Regions from separate parts of the Homo sapiens genome. Here region 2 is linked to region 1. The links are contacts of gene promoters, found by promoter capture Hi-C in human tissues and cell types (Jung and others, 2019). All regions are on one chromosome and are shown on one strand. The core of a region is centred on a gene start or on the middle of the fragment in contact, and the rest is flanking DNA. Distances in the headings are between cores, read along the strand shown.

Region 1 (6,874 bases), core at 1,148-3,647:
ACTAGGGCTGGGCCGGATGCAGTGGCTCATGCCTGTAATCCCAGCACTTTGGGAGGCCAAGGCGGGTGGATCACGAGGTCAAGAGATTGAGACCATCTTGGCTAACGTGGTGAAACCCTCTCTACTAAAAATACAAAAATCAGCCAGGCGTGGTGGTGGGCACCTGTAGTCCCAGCTACTCAGGAGACTGAGGCAGAAGAGTCAATTGAACCCAGGAGGCGGAGGCTGCAGTGAGCCGAGACTGCACCACTGCGCTCCAGCCTGGCAACAGAGCAAGACTCCGTTTTAAAAAAAAAAAAAAAAAAGTATTACTAGGGCTCTTCTACATCTCTTAGCCTGGCATTCAAAAATTTTCAATGAAGCTATAAAGCTCCTCCACCCCAGCTAGTTTGTTTCCATTTATGTATTTTTCCTTATGCTGTATCTTTCCTGAAAACTTGTAAGCTTTCCCATCTTTCTTTTTTTCCCTTTCTTCTTAATATTTTTAGAAATGGGGTCTTGCTATGTTTACCAGATTGGTCTTGAACTCTTGGCAACAAGCAATCCTCCCCACTAGGCTTCCCAAAGTGCTAGGATTACAGGTGTGAGTCATCCCACCCAGTGAGCTTTCCCATCTTTTGCCTGCTTCTCTAGGATGCCAATCTGAATTCACCTTTTCCTTTAGCTTTGTCCCACACCAATCACTCCCTCAGCTTTCTATTTATCATACTACGTTCCCGCTTCCTAGCAACTTCACATCTTGATTTTCCATTTGGGCTCTTTTTTAAGTCTTCTAAAGAATTCAGGTTCCTCATAAAAGGAGTCATTACGCTTGGGCAACATGGCGAGACTCCCTCTGTACAGAAAATACAAAAATTAACTGCGGTGGTGGCGTGCGTCACTAGACCCAGCTAGTCAGGAGACTGAGGCAGGAGGATTGTTGAGTGACACAGCAAGACCCTGTCTCAATTTTTAAAAAGCGGGGCCGGGCGCTGTGGCTTACGCCTGTAATCCTAGCACTTTGGGAGGCAGAGGCAGGCAGATCACTTGAGGTCAGGAGATCAAGACCATCCTGGCCAACACGGTGAAACCCCATCTCTACTATAAATACAAAAATTAACCGGGCGTGGTGGCGGGAGCCTGTAGTACTGGCTGCTCAGGAGGCTGAGGCAGGAGAATGGCGTGAACCCAGGAAGCGGAGCTTGCAGTGAGCCGAGATCGTGCCGCTGCACTCCAGCCTGGGTGACAGAGCGAGACTCTGCCTCAAAAAAAAAAAAAAAAATTAAAATTAAAATTAAAAGCGGGGAGGTGCGGGGGGTGATTACTTGTTGAATACAATTCATACAGTTAGGTTTGAGGAAGAACTTTTTTTCTTTTTTTTTGAGATAGAGTCTCACTCTTGCCCAGGCTGGAGTGCAAGTGGCTCGATCTTGGCTCACTACAACCTCTGCCTCCCGGGTTCAAGCGATTCTCCTGCCTCAGCTCTCGAGTAGCTGAGATTACAGGCGTTTGCCACCACGCCCGGCTAATTTTTGTATTTTTAGTAGAGACACGGTTTCACCATGTTGGCCAGGCTGGTCTGAAACTCCTGACCGCATGTGATCCACCCGCCTCGGCCTCCCAAAGTGCTGGGATTACAGGCGTGAGCCACCGCGCCCGGCCCAGAACTTCATTTTTAAGATAATAAACTGAGGGGCTGAGACGTTTTAAGAGACTGTGAACACCTGGGCTGGCACTGTTTTGAGAACAATCAACGAAAGGGGAAGGGAGAGAATAACCACCGCACTTCCCAGAGAGTCTAGGCATGATTCTGGTCCCTTAACAGTTACCTGTTTAGGGTCCTGTATGCGCTTTCCACGTTCCCTTCCTGTACCATCACAGTCCTGGCGATGAACTTCAGATGTTTTGCCATGACCTTGGATTTAAACCTTCACTCTGTAGAGCCTAAAGGATGATGGAGAAAGGGCGAGGAAAGCAGAAAGAGAAACGCAACATAATACAAACTACACCGCGCGGCTTATTTAGGATTTGGAAATTCAACATGCTCAGGGACGCGCGAGATGGAGCACATGGAAGTCATCCTAGAAAGTAGACGTGAATCGTTGTCTCTTATTCTCACTGCCAGTCCAAATCCTCGCATAGAGAAGAAAAGAGATGGCAGCAGGGCGTTACCACAAAGACGCGTCGCCGGGCATGAGAAGGACACGAGCGACAAGGATGCGCCACAGGGTCCCAACCACCACACATAGTTCCAAAAGGGGTTGAGTTGGGAGTTGGGGAAGGACTCTTTGTTGGTCTTTGGAAAAGGGGGCGAAAGCCCGCAAACCTGCCCTCTCGCCAAGCCAGCCTTCCTTTCCCCAAACCCTGCACAACTCCTCACCTCGCGCGCTCAGTACCTAGCCCACCGGAAGGGTTCTCACTACCGGAAGCGGAAATTACGGAATCGCCAGCGCCGCGCAAAGAAACAGGCCGAGGGAGACAACGTGCGTGGAAACCATAGCAACGTCCTTTCTGGCCTCTGTTGACTGCCTCTCTTCCCCGGGCCTGGACTCTACACCTGACAAAGCAAAATACTCATTGACTTAAATTCCCCCGAAACACGTTTCTCGCCCTCTCATGGAGTCGAAGTCCTTCGGCCTCTGAGAAGGTCAGCCCAATTTCATACCCCTTAATCCTGTGAAATCCTTGATAAATATTTGAGCCATTTCTCTTTCTCGATGGAAAACAAGAGAAGTAGGCGCTTCCTGAGGATGCTTCCTGTTTTCTCTTTGGAAAGGACAGACTCTTTGAGATCTGCTCTCCGGACGAAAAATAGATTGATTCATACACGTCATCTGCCTAAGTGCTAAGGAAAAGAAATAAACATACTGTGAGTTTCCTATATCATCTTCCCACTAATTTAACTACATAAAGTGAAATCAATAAAGATATATGGGAAACACCTGCAGGGTTTAGAATAAAAAATTATGTCAGCTTCTATGCCTTTTCGTGCTAATGAGACCTACTGAAAAACCTCCTTTTAAATTTCTTCTTCGCTGTGGAGACACCCGTCCTCCTATTTGTATGCTACCTGTACATATCCATTTATGGTTATTCACGTAAGTTAACATCTAATGGCTGTAGGAAAACGTACCTCCCTTAGAGAGAGAGTGCGCGCGCACGCTCACGCACACACACACACACACAGACACAGACACAGACGTGTGCATCATCAGTTGATGCTAATAACTTACACTAACACTTAAGCCCACCTCAGAGTAAGCCAGGTCCAAAGTAACGAAATAGAACTAGATTGGGACATTATTATGCTTGTCAACAAACTTTCACTGAATGACTACTCTGTGTCAGATACTGTTGATACCACTCTAGTGCCTCCTGGACCACTAGGACCACATAAAAGATACTAAAACAAAGTAGTATATAATAAATGCAAAATAAATTATATGGGCTGGACGCGGTGGCTCACACCTGTAATCCCAGCACTTTGGGAGGCCAAGGCAGGCGGATCACTTGAGCCCAGAAGTTCGAGACCAGCCTGGGCAACAAAGCAAAACTCCGTCTTTACAAAAAATATAGAAATTAGCCGGGTGTAGTGGCATGGCCTGTTGTCCTAGCTACTTGGGAGGCTGAGGGGGAGGATCACCTGAGCCTGGAAGGTCAAGGCTGCAGCGAGCTTTGATCACACCACTGCACCCTGGCCTGGGCAATAGAGTGAGACCCTGTCTCAAAAAATTAAAAATGAATAAATAAATAAATAGGGCCAGGCGCGGTGGCGCACGCCTGTAATCCCAGCACTTTGGGAGGCTGAGGCGGGTAGATCACCTGAGGTCAGGAGTTTGAGACCAGCCTGGCCAACATGGTGAAACCCTGTCTCTACTAAAAATACAAAATTAGCCAGGCGTGGTGCCACATGCCTGTAATCCCAGCTGCTTGGGAGGCTGAGGCAGGAGAATCACATGAACCTGGGAGGCGGAGGTGGCAGTGAGCCGAGATCGCACCATTGCACTCCAGCCTGGGCAACAAGAGTGAAACTCCATTTCAAAAAATAAATAAACAAACAAATAATAAATAAAATATGCCACAGCATAATGTGGTGAAAGGCACTGGCTTCAAAGTTGGGAGATCTGGATTCTATCCCAATTCTAATACTCATCAGGCCTATGACCTTGAAGAAGTCATTTAAAACCAGGGGTCTGGAGACTACAGTTTACAGGTCAAATCCTGCTCCACCTGTTTTTGTAAATAAGGCTGTTGACCTACAGTCATGCTTATTTGACTGTGTGTTATGTATGGCTGCTTTGGGCTACGATGGCCGAATTGGGTAGTTGCAATAGAGACATAAAGCCTACAAAGCCTAAAATATTTACTATCTGGCCCTTGCCAGACTCACTCTATTTCCTCATCTCTAAAATGGGACTAATTTTGCCCTGTTCAGTCTCACGAAATTTGTCATGGGAATCAAATAGAATAAAATATGAAGATATGCCGGGCACGGTGGCTCACGCCTGTAATCCCAGCACTTTGGGAGGCTGAGGCGGGTGGATCACGAGGTCAGGAGATCGAGACCATCCTGGCTAACACAGTGAAACCCCGTCTCTACTAAAAATACAAAAGATCAGCTGGGCGTGGCGGCGCTCGCCTGTAGTCTCAGCTACTTGGGAGGCTGAGGCAAGAGAATCACTTGAACCCTGGAGGTGGAGGTTGCAGTGAGCTGAGATGGTGCCACTGCACTCCAGCCTGGGTGACAGAGCGAGACTCTGTCTCCAAAAAAAAAAAAAAAAAAAAGAGAAAAAAAATATGAAGATACTTTGAAAGAAAGGAAGGGAGACAGGAACTGATGTTAATAAGTTCTGTTAACCACTACCATTGGATCAGCTGGAGAGTAACATTTTTGAGAGCCTACTATATACTAAACCCTGTACTAGGTGGGTGTTTTTTATTTTTGTTTTTGTTTTTCTGAAACAGAGTCTCACTCTTGTTGCCCAGGCTAGAATGCAGTGGCACCATCATAGCTCACTGTAGCCTGGACCTCCTGAGCTCAGGTGATCCTTCCACCTCAGCCTCCCGAGTAGCTGGGATTACAGGGACATGCCACTACGCCTAGCTAATTTTTTGTATTTTTAGTAGAGACTAATTTTTTGTATTTTTAATAGTTTCACTATGTTGTCCAGGCTGGTCTCCCAAAGTGCTAGGATTACAAGTGTGAGCCACCCCACCAGGCCCCAAACCCTGCACTAGGTATTTTATGTACATGATTCCATTTAATGGAGTAAACGGCCAAACACTGAGTGTATAGATCATGTTTAACAGAAAGAATGATAGGATGGACTTGAGTTAGTCGTTGAAAGAGGGCAGGGTTTAGATAACAGAAGCAGGAAAGGTTTGGCAAGGTGAACAGCATGAACAAGAGCTTAGGGGCAAAAAGGTGTAGTGTTCAGGAGTCAAAACAAAACAAAACAAAAACCTGCAACAGAGAGATCATGCAGGGGAGCACAGGGAAAAATAGAGACTGTGACTAAAGATTTTGGACTTTCTTCTCAAAGCATTCGAGAGCCATTGAAGAATTTGAATAGGATATGATATGCAAAGCACTGTTCTAGGAAAATTAACTTGGTTATCAGCGAAAAGGGATTAGAAGAGAGACTACTGGTACAGTGAAGTCTAGACCAGACTGGTGGCAATGGAATGGATAGGAAGAAATGGATTTTAAGAGATATTCCAAATAAAGAATAAAAAGGATCTGGTGACCAGATGGCACCAAATTTTAAGCCTAGTTATCCAGGAAAAAACAAAACAAAACAAAAAACTATGGTACTTAGTGATACCACAGATAGCACTAACAGAAGAGGAGACTGTAAAAAGTGGTAGCTGGCTGGCACAGTGGCTCACGCCTGTAATCCCAGCAGGCGTGGGATTGGGAGGCCGAAGTGGGTGGATCATGAGGTCAGGAGTTCAAGATCAGCCTGGCCAACATGGTGAAAGCCCATCTCTACTAAAAATACAAAAAATAGCTGGATGTGGTAGTGGGTGCCTGTAATCCCAGCTACTCAGGAGGCTGAGGCAGAATCATTTGAACTTAGGAGGCGGAGGTTGCAGTGAGCCGGGATCGCACCATTGTACTCCAGCCTGGGTGACATGTGAGACTCTGTCTCAAAAAAAAAGAAAAAAAGTGGTAGCAGGACATGTTTTCAGGAAAGAATAATTTGATTGGTGATTACTGGAAAACACATCAGACTGGAAACCGAGTTCTGTCCACATATTGTGTTGTCCTAGATAAGTCTCCTAAGTTTCGTTTCTTTTTTTTTTTTTTGAGACGGAGTTTCACTCTTGTTGCCCAGGCCAGAGTGCAATGGCTTAATCTTGGATCACCGCAACCTCCGCCTCCCAGGTTCAAGGGATTCTCCTGCCTCAGCCTCCAGAGTAGCTGGGATTAAAGGCATGCACCACCATGCCCAGCTTAATTTTTTTTTTTTGTATTTTTAGTACAGATGGGGTTTCTCCATGTTGGTCAGGCTGGTCTTGAACTCCCGACCTCAGGTGGTCCACCTGCCTTGGCCTCCCAAAGTGCTGGGATTATAGGTGTGAGCCACTGCACCTGGCCCTAAGTTTCTTTATGTATCAAATGAGGAGGTTGGGTTGAACTGGATATACAAGAGGCATTTTTTTTTTTTTTGAGAGGGAGTCTTACTCTGTCACCCAGGCTGGTGTGCAGTGGCGCATCTCAGCTCACTGCAACCTCCGCCTCCCGCGTTCAAGCAATTCTGGTGCATCAGCCTCCTGAGTAGCTGGGACTACAGGTGTGCACCACCACGCCCAGCTAATTTTTGTATTTTTAATAGAGACAGGGTTTCCCTATGTTGGCCACGCTGGTCTTGAACTCCTGACCTCCAGGGAT
Region 2 (7,111 bases), core at 1,419-3,918, 290 kb after region 1:
TGACTTGTATAAGGCCCGGTGACTGGTAATGAATGCTAATCATTAGGTGGCCTTTAGTGGCCTTATGTTGCCAACAACTTGGAAAATTTCCCAAAGCTTTATTTGTTTAATCTTTCTTTTGAGACCCCTATTTAAAAAACGACTTAATTTGGAGACGAAAATCTAATTTTTAAAAACCACATACACCTTTCCCAGAATCTGTTGATGATCAATAATTGTTTTGATCTGTGTGAGTTGATTGGTGCCAATATTAGTGATGATATCTGGGTAAATTCTATTTATATCTGCATCTAGCAACTCCCTAAGTTGAACTGCATACTTTATTCCAGGGCATGGGGATCAAAGGGGTTGAAGAAGCCTAGGAATGAGTGGAGAGCTGCCTGGTAGTCCACCACTATTCCTAGTTCTCAGGAGGCTTTATTTGCAATTTTGAGATTCAATGTATGTAACCAAAATAAGTATTCTGATTGTTATGAGGGCACTAAGTGCCACTTGTCAAAGTTTTGGAGCTCCTGAGTATCTTAAGCATGCTAAAAGACACTGGCCATTATAGTGTGGGTGTATGTGTGTATGAGTAGCACTCTCCTTACCCTAAACACTCATCCCACCAAAGGGAAAATCCTTAAACAGCGCTTTGAAATGTGACCTCAGCAGTATCTTTCCTATGGGAACTTAGGAGCTGTGGAATAGCAGACTGTGGAATCTTTTTTGTAGCCTCTGATAAATTCAGGTAATTAAAAATTTGTGTAACTGGAAGATAGATACAGGGCAGTTTTTCTCATGAATGCCTGAATTCAGTTGACTTTTTAATATAATAGAAGAGAGTTGTTTGTTTGTTTTTAAATAAGACATCCTTGCTGAGTAATGATTGAACACTTCTCTGGATAAAGCAGTCTCCATGCTCCAGTGACAGGCTTTAGGGAGGTATAAAAGATGTAAAGACATGTGTCTTTGCTCTTGGGGTTGAGGGTGGATGGGAAAGGTGGTGTATAAATATGGGAAGGCAGACTATTATGAGCTTTAACATTTAGGAAACAACATATAGACAAAAGCAAATTTAACGTGCTGATAAGTATGTAAGGGCTGAGAAGACTTAAAGTAACAAAGTAAGAATCAGTGAAATAAATTGGGGAGATTTCTGAGTCAGTAAATTTTGAAATGGACTTGGGAGGCTATGGATGAGTCATAAAGAGGTATGGGCTATTGAGTTAGATGGGTCTTCGTTCAGACCTTGCGGCTATTTTTTACCATGTGACCTTGGACAAGTTAACTTCTTTTCCTTATCTGTAAAATGTGAGCATTCAAGTAAATGAAATAGTTACTGTGTTGGGAATAAAAGAAAAGAAAGGATCTTCCAAACAGAAAGTATAGAATGTACAGTGTGCAATGATGATATGAATGACTAAGTTGTGAGTGGGGGGAATATATGAGAGTGACTGTAGAGAATGTGGGTTGGGCAAGTCATGAGTAGAGCAGGCAAGAGGGTGGAGGGGACTCAGAAGCCAGACTCTGTTGGGTGTTGATAGAAGGGTCAATAGAATCATTGTAGGTCCTTGAACAAAGGACGGATTTAATGAGAAATATTGAGCCCTTTGGTTCAGGAACTCAGGGACAAGGAATCAGGCAGGCATCCGTACATTGTGACTCTTATTTTCTGTACCATCCTAACCTGAAGGGATACAGCCAGGAGGCATAAGATTCCTTGTAGAAGTTTTTGTGTTTACACACCTTACTATGCTGAGCCTGCTTGTTCCTGTCTCGTAGTGCACCAACCTGTGGGGAAGTCTCAAGACTATGGCCGGATTCTCCTCAAGAGCTTATAGTAAGGACAGCATTATGTTTCAAGTGCATTTAACTCTCAGTTGTCTCTGCTAATGTAGGGAGCACTGTTGTAGGTAATTCAGAACTTAACAAAGACATTTCCTGGTTATTTTCAACTGTGTTTTTTTTAGGATTATACCTTATCCCTTTATTTCCTCTAAGAAATAGTTTTAGATAAGAAAAATTACTAAACTGTTATTTGTAGTGACCCACTATGAGTTTAATTCTTTGCTAGGTGCTATGGAGGTTTAGGAAAAATGACAACTTTGCTCCCAGACTGAAGTACAGTGGCGCAATCTCAGCTTACTGCAAGCTCTGCCTCCCAGGTTCATGCCATTGTCCTGCCTCAGCCTCCCGAGTAGCTGGGACTACAGGCGCCCACCACCACGCCCGGTTAATTTTTTGTATTTTTAGTAGAGACGGGGTTTCACCGTGTTAGCCAGGATGGTCTTGATCTCCTGACCTCGTGATCCGCCTGACTCGGCCTCCCAAAGTGCTGGGATTACAGGCGTGAGCCAGTGTGCCGGGCCGAAAATACATTATTTTTTAAACTAGATTTATTTTCATTTTTGGGGATCATACTAATATTGAAATAAATTTGCATTTCTAAGCTTATATTACCTGATGGTGGGGAGAGTACACTGATGATGAAGAACAGTCATTCTTGCATTAAAGATTTGGCCTTAGAAATCCGTAAAATGAATAATCCATTTGTAGATAATTAAGACTAGACTACACTGAATATGTTGATAGACCAATTTCTTTTCAAAATCTGTATGGATCCAATGTGGCCTCCTAGGCTGTCTGTCTTATGTCTGAGAATGACTGGCAGGTGATGCTTGTGTTCCAGCCAGAATGAGCCTTCATTCACAGTATCTGGACGAATGCCACTACATTATGTTGTGTTGTTGAAGATTAAGCCGGCTTTCTCAAAGGACTTGTGCTTTGTAGAGGCTCTTCCAGATATCAGCTTCATTGAAAATCTGTCAGACTTTTCCTCCTGTAGGAAAGTTGTTTGAAAGTATGTCCAATTAAAAAAAAAAGGAATGGGCAGAAGTGTCCACATTTAAGAAGTAAACAAAATCACATGCCATTCTTTCATCCCTTTTTTTTCTTCTCCAGTTGACTTGCTTTTCTCCATCCCTGCCACTCTCCCCCACCTCTTTATAATCATTACCAAACTGATGTCACGAGCACAGGATTATTATTTACTTCTTGAGTCAGGAGATTGTAGTATTTCTGAGCTAGAAATCAGGTGGAAAAGTCAGGAATCTTATTTTATACAACTAGATAGGGATTATTTTCAACTGTGCTTTTTTTAGGATTATACCTTAGCCCTTTATTTCCTCTAAGAAATAGCTGTAGATAAGAAAATTACTAAACTGTTATTTGTAGTGACCCACTATGAGTTTAATTCTTTGCTAGGTGCTATGGAGGATTAGGAAAAATGACAACTTTGTGTCCTTGAAGAGTTTACAGTCCAGTTGGGAGTAAGAAGAATAAAAAGGAATGAATACTTGCTGAGCCTCTTAATATGCCACACAAAATTTTAAAATGTGAAACTATATTGTTAGTTGCATAGTGCAGACCTCATACCGTAGGTATTTGGGGAGAGGAGTACTCAGGTAGTTATGTCACAGAGGAATTATAACTCATTTCAGATCTTAATAAAAAAATAGGCCAGGCACAGTGGCTCACGCCTGTAATCCCAGCTACTCAGGAGGCTGAGGCAGGAGAATCACTTGAACCCAGGAGATGGAGGTTGCAAACAGCCGAGATAGCACCACTGCACTCCAGCCTGGGTGACAGAGCAAGACTCTGTCTCCAAAATAAATAAAAAAATAAATGAATAAGTGTTATTGTATTAGGTACAAGGGATGAAGATGAAGAGGATAACAAAACATTTCATATTGGAGCTGAAAGGGATCAAGCGAAAGCCTGGAAACAGGACTATACCTGAGATGTTCTTGGGGCGGTGAGGAGACTAACCTGAGTGGCAGTGAGCAGTAGTGAAATGAAGGTGGGTAGGTTGGTTTGGAGCTATGTTTATAGAGGGTGTTAAAAAGCTAGGCTTATAAGTTTATATATATATATAAAATTTATTTATTTATTTATTTATGTATTTATTTATTTATTTTTTTGAGACAGGGTCTTGCTCTGTTGTCCAGCTCAGGCTGGAGTGCAGTGACACAATCTTGGCTGACTGCAACCTCCGCCTCCTGGGTTCAAGTGATTCTCGTGCCTCAGCCTCCTGAGTAGCTGGGATTACAGGCGTGCACCAGCATGCCCAGCTAATTTTTGTATTTTTAGTAGAGACAGGATTTCACCATGTTGGCCAGGCTGGTCTCAAACTCCTGACCTCAAGTGATCCGCCCACCTTAGCTTCCCAAAGTGCTGGGATGACAGGCATGAGCCACCGTGCCCGGTCAACTTTATATTTTAAATGGTAGAAGATTTTTGAATAGAATAGCAGTATGATGATACTAATACACAGGTTGGCTGGGAGGGAATGGAGATTGACACTGGGGGTGTGTGAAGTGATGAGGCCCGAGTTAGAGTTGTGGAGGGTAGGCTAAGGAGAGGAAAGAGTGAAAAAGAGACTGTGAAGGAAAAATGGAAATTAATGAGGGGTGGATGTGGGAGATGAAGAAGGGTGATGAGTCAACTACAACTGTGACACGTTGTGCCTGGGTGTCTGAGACATTGAGTGAAATAAAGAAGTTAGGAAGCTTTCCTCATTTTGGGGAAATATGATGAGTATAATTTGCGATGTGTTGGATTTAAAGTGGCAATGAAATGTCCAAATGAAGGCTGTCCTGGGTGTGAGCTGGAGTAAAGATGGGGGTAGGTTTGGAAATGCAGTTTTGCAATTCATGGCCTAGATGTGGTAGCTGTAGCCAAGAGAATTAATAAGCTCTCTGAGGACTAAAGTTTAGGGAAAGAGCAGAAGGGCAAAGAAAATGGTACTGATAAACCTAAACACGTCTAAACCTAAACATGTCTCCTATCTTGTAAACACCATCCTAGGCACTGAGATGGAGGTAAGGGAGACAAGGAACCCACGAGGAGCGTATGGGTCTAGTGGGAGGAGACAGATATGTAAATATATAGATAGAATGAAGTGTGATAGATGCTGTGATAGAAGTATGCAGCAGGGAGAGTGGGAGCCCAAGGGTCAGTTCTGCCTTGGGCATGCTGAGGTTGGAAAGAGCCTCCCTGAGGAGTTAGCATTTGAGCTGAGTCTTGAAAGATGAATTAAGGATATACTCTACAGATGACAAGAATTACATTCCAGTCTGAGAAAATACCATGAACAAAAGCTTAAAGGAATGAAGGCCAGACTTCTTCAGGTAACTTTTACTTAATCATTATGGCTGGAGGATGGGATGGAGGGCAGGCTGAAGAGGTAGGCAACGCTGGATCATACAGAGTTTTTATCTTTTTTTTTTTTTTTTTGAGACAGAGTCTTGCTCTGTCACCCAGGCTGGAGTGCAGTGGCACAATCTCAGCTCACTGCAAGCTCCGCCTCCCGGGTTCACGCCATTCTCCTGCCTCAGCCTCCCGAGTTGCTGGGACTACAGGCGCCCGCCACCATGCCCGGCTAATTTTTTGTATTTTTAGTGGAGGCGGGGTTTCACCATGTTAGCCAGGATGGTCTTGATCTCCTGACCTCGCGATCCGCCCGCCTCGGCCTCCCAAAGTGCTGGGATTACAGGCGAGAGCCACCACGCCCGGCCTGGAGCTTTATCTTATACTGCAGTATATCAGGAGCCATTTAATACGTTTCACATCCTAGAAAGATTATGTCAGTGGTGTGTAGGGTGGATTGGAGATGGAGAAAGCAGAATTCCTTTCAATAACTTCATTATACTGAACACATTTATTGAGAGTGATCATATTTACAGATTCATGGAATCAGACAACTGGCGGGGCTGCGATGCTTTCTTAGTTTTCCTCATTCATTTTCAAATAGAATACCTGAGGTTTACTCAGGATCACAGAAGTGGTTCTGTGATAGCTTAGTCTAGAATTCAGTCTTCAGCATGTACTAGGTGATTAATAAAGGTGAATTCACCTCTCTCTTCTCTCCCAAGTCCCATTTCAGTGTTTGTGTCATTCTGCCACATTGCATTGTACTAGCAGATAGAAGGACTTAACATCATTCCATTCTACCGTCTTTTTTTAACCAGTCCAAAGTGAATAGAGGTATTTTCCTAGGTCTGACTGAGAAAGATGTTCCCTGAGAGTACCATTGGGAAGAGGGGCAGTTCGGTGCCCTGGACTGGGCTGAATGAGGTGTTAGGATTTTTCAGCTGTAGTGATTCAGATGTAGAAGAATGTCAAGGTATTTGTTTTGTTGCATGTCTTTATCTCTGCCACTAAGCTCCCTTTAAGTTGTTTTCTTTTAAACTTAGTTTTATTTGTGCCACTGAAACTTGTTAAATAAGCTATGATAAATTGGGCACTGATTAAAAGTATATTTATCTAAAAAAAAAAGAATATCTAAACAAAATTTAGAAAAGTTCAGGGAAAAAACCCAAACAGAAACAATTTTGAGCCTACATCCCAAATTTGATGGACATTAACATTTTGTCATATTTGTTTTAGATGTCTTACTCTCTTTAAAATATTAAATACTCAGATTCTGCATCTTCCCTGTATTTTCATTTTCATTGGATTTTTGTGGAGGGAAATTGTTTGGTTTTAAAGTGCTAAGTGAGAGTTTGGATTTTGTGTTTTAGTCACTTTTGCTGGAGGAGAACAGAACAGGGTAGAGGGCATCCTCTAAGTCCTTAGATTCCCCTGGGAGAAATTGGGACTTAAGGACGTGTGGAAGGATGGATACCTTCCATTGATAGGCCTTCCTCAAAACTTGTCTGAGTTGTGATTTTTAAATTCTTTTCTCTGGGCTCTGTCAGCATCTTCCCCAGAGAAGGGCCTTGGTTTGGAAGCTGTCCACTTAAGCAGAGCTGCCAAGTCTTAATTCTTTCTCAAGTGGGCAAGGGTACATTTTGTTTTTGTTTGTGAGTATTTGGGAGAAGGAAGGGGTGGGTAGAAAGGAGGCACAGAATAGCTACTCACAGTGAGTACTTATCTGAATTCCTGTGTAACTGGAAGCTTTCTTGGCTGTTTTAGGGGAGATAACTTGGTTACACTAGCATTTAAATTATGTGGGAAGGTGGTTTTTCACTCCCCTCTGCTATCTGATTTGAGATGGCAATAAACCTTCTTGTCCATTTTTGTCAGTCCTCACTCTACCCTGTTCTAAGCGCTGCTGTTTGAGGGATGT

The links. Contacts are between HindIII fragments. The study calls those that stand out against the background at their distance.
Region 2: a contact is called between a fragment that was not itself captured here and the fragment with the promoter of MRPS21 in region 1, in 2 of the 25 tissues and cell types used here (aorta and dorsolateral prefrontal cortex).

What each region holds. Positions count from the first base shown.
Region 1 is chr1:150,289,384-150,296,257 of GRCh38, reverse strand. MRPS21 (mitochondrial ribosomal protein S21) reads right to left here and starts at 2,397. Exons shown (of 3, transcript NM_031901.6): 1 at 2,360-2,397; 2 at 1,809-1,923. The coding sequence starts at 1,891. It overlaps LOC105371434 (a long non-coding RNA gene), which reads left to right and starts at 2,438. Exons shown (of 2, transcript XR_922129.4): 1 at 2,438-2,626; 2 at 2,761-2,958. RefSeq lists an enhancer at 2,050-2,109. The HindIII fragment of the contact is 19,456 bases long and covers 1-6,874 here.
Region 2 is chr1:150,001,416-150,008,526 of GRCh38, reverse strand. The region is part of intron 1 of OTUD7B (OTU deubiquitinase 7B); the gene reads left to right. Among named protein-coding and RNA genes, the nearest start is that of OTUD7B, 5.8 kb to the left of the region's middle. The HindIII fragment of the contact is 6,747 bases long and covers 1-6,041 here.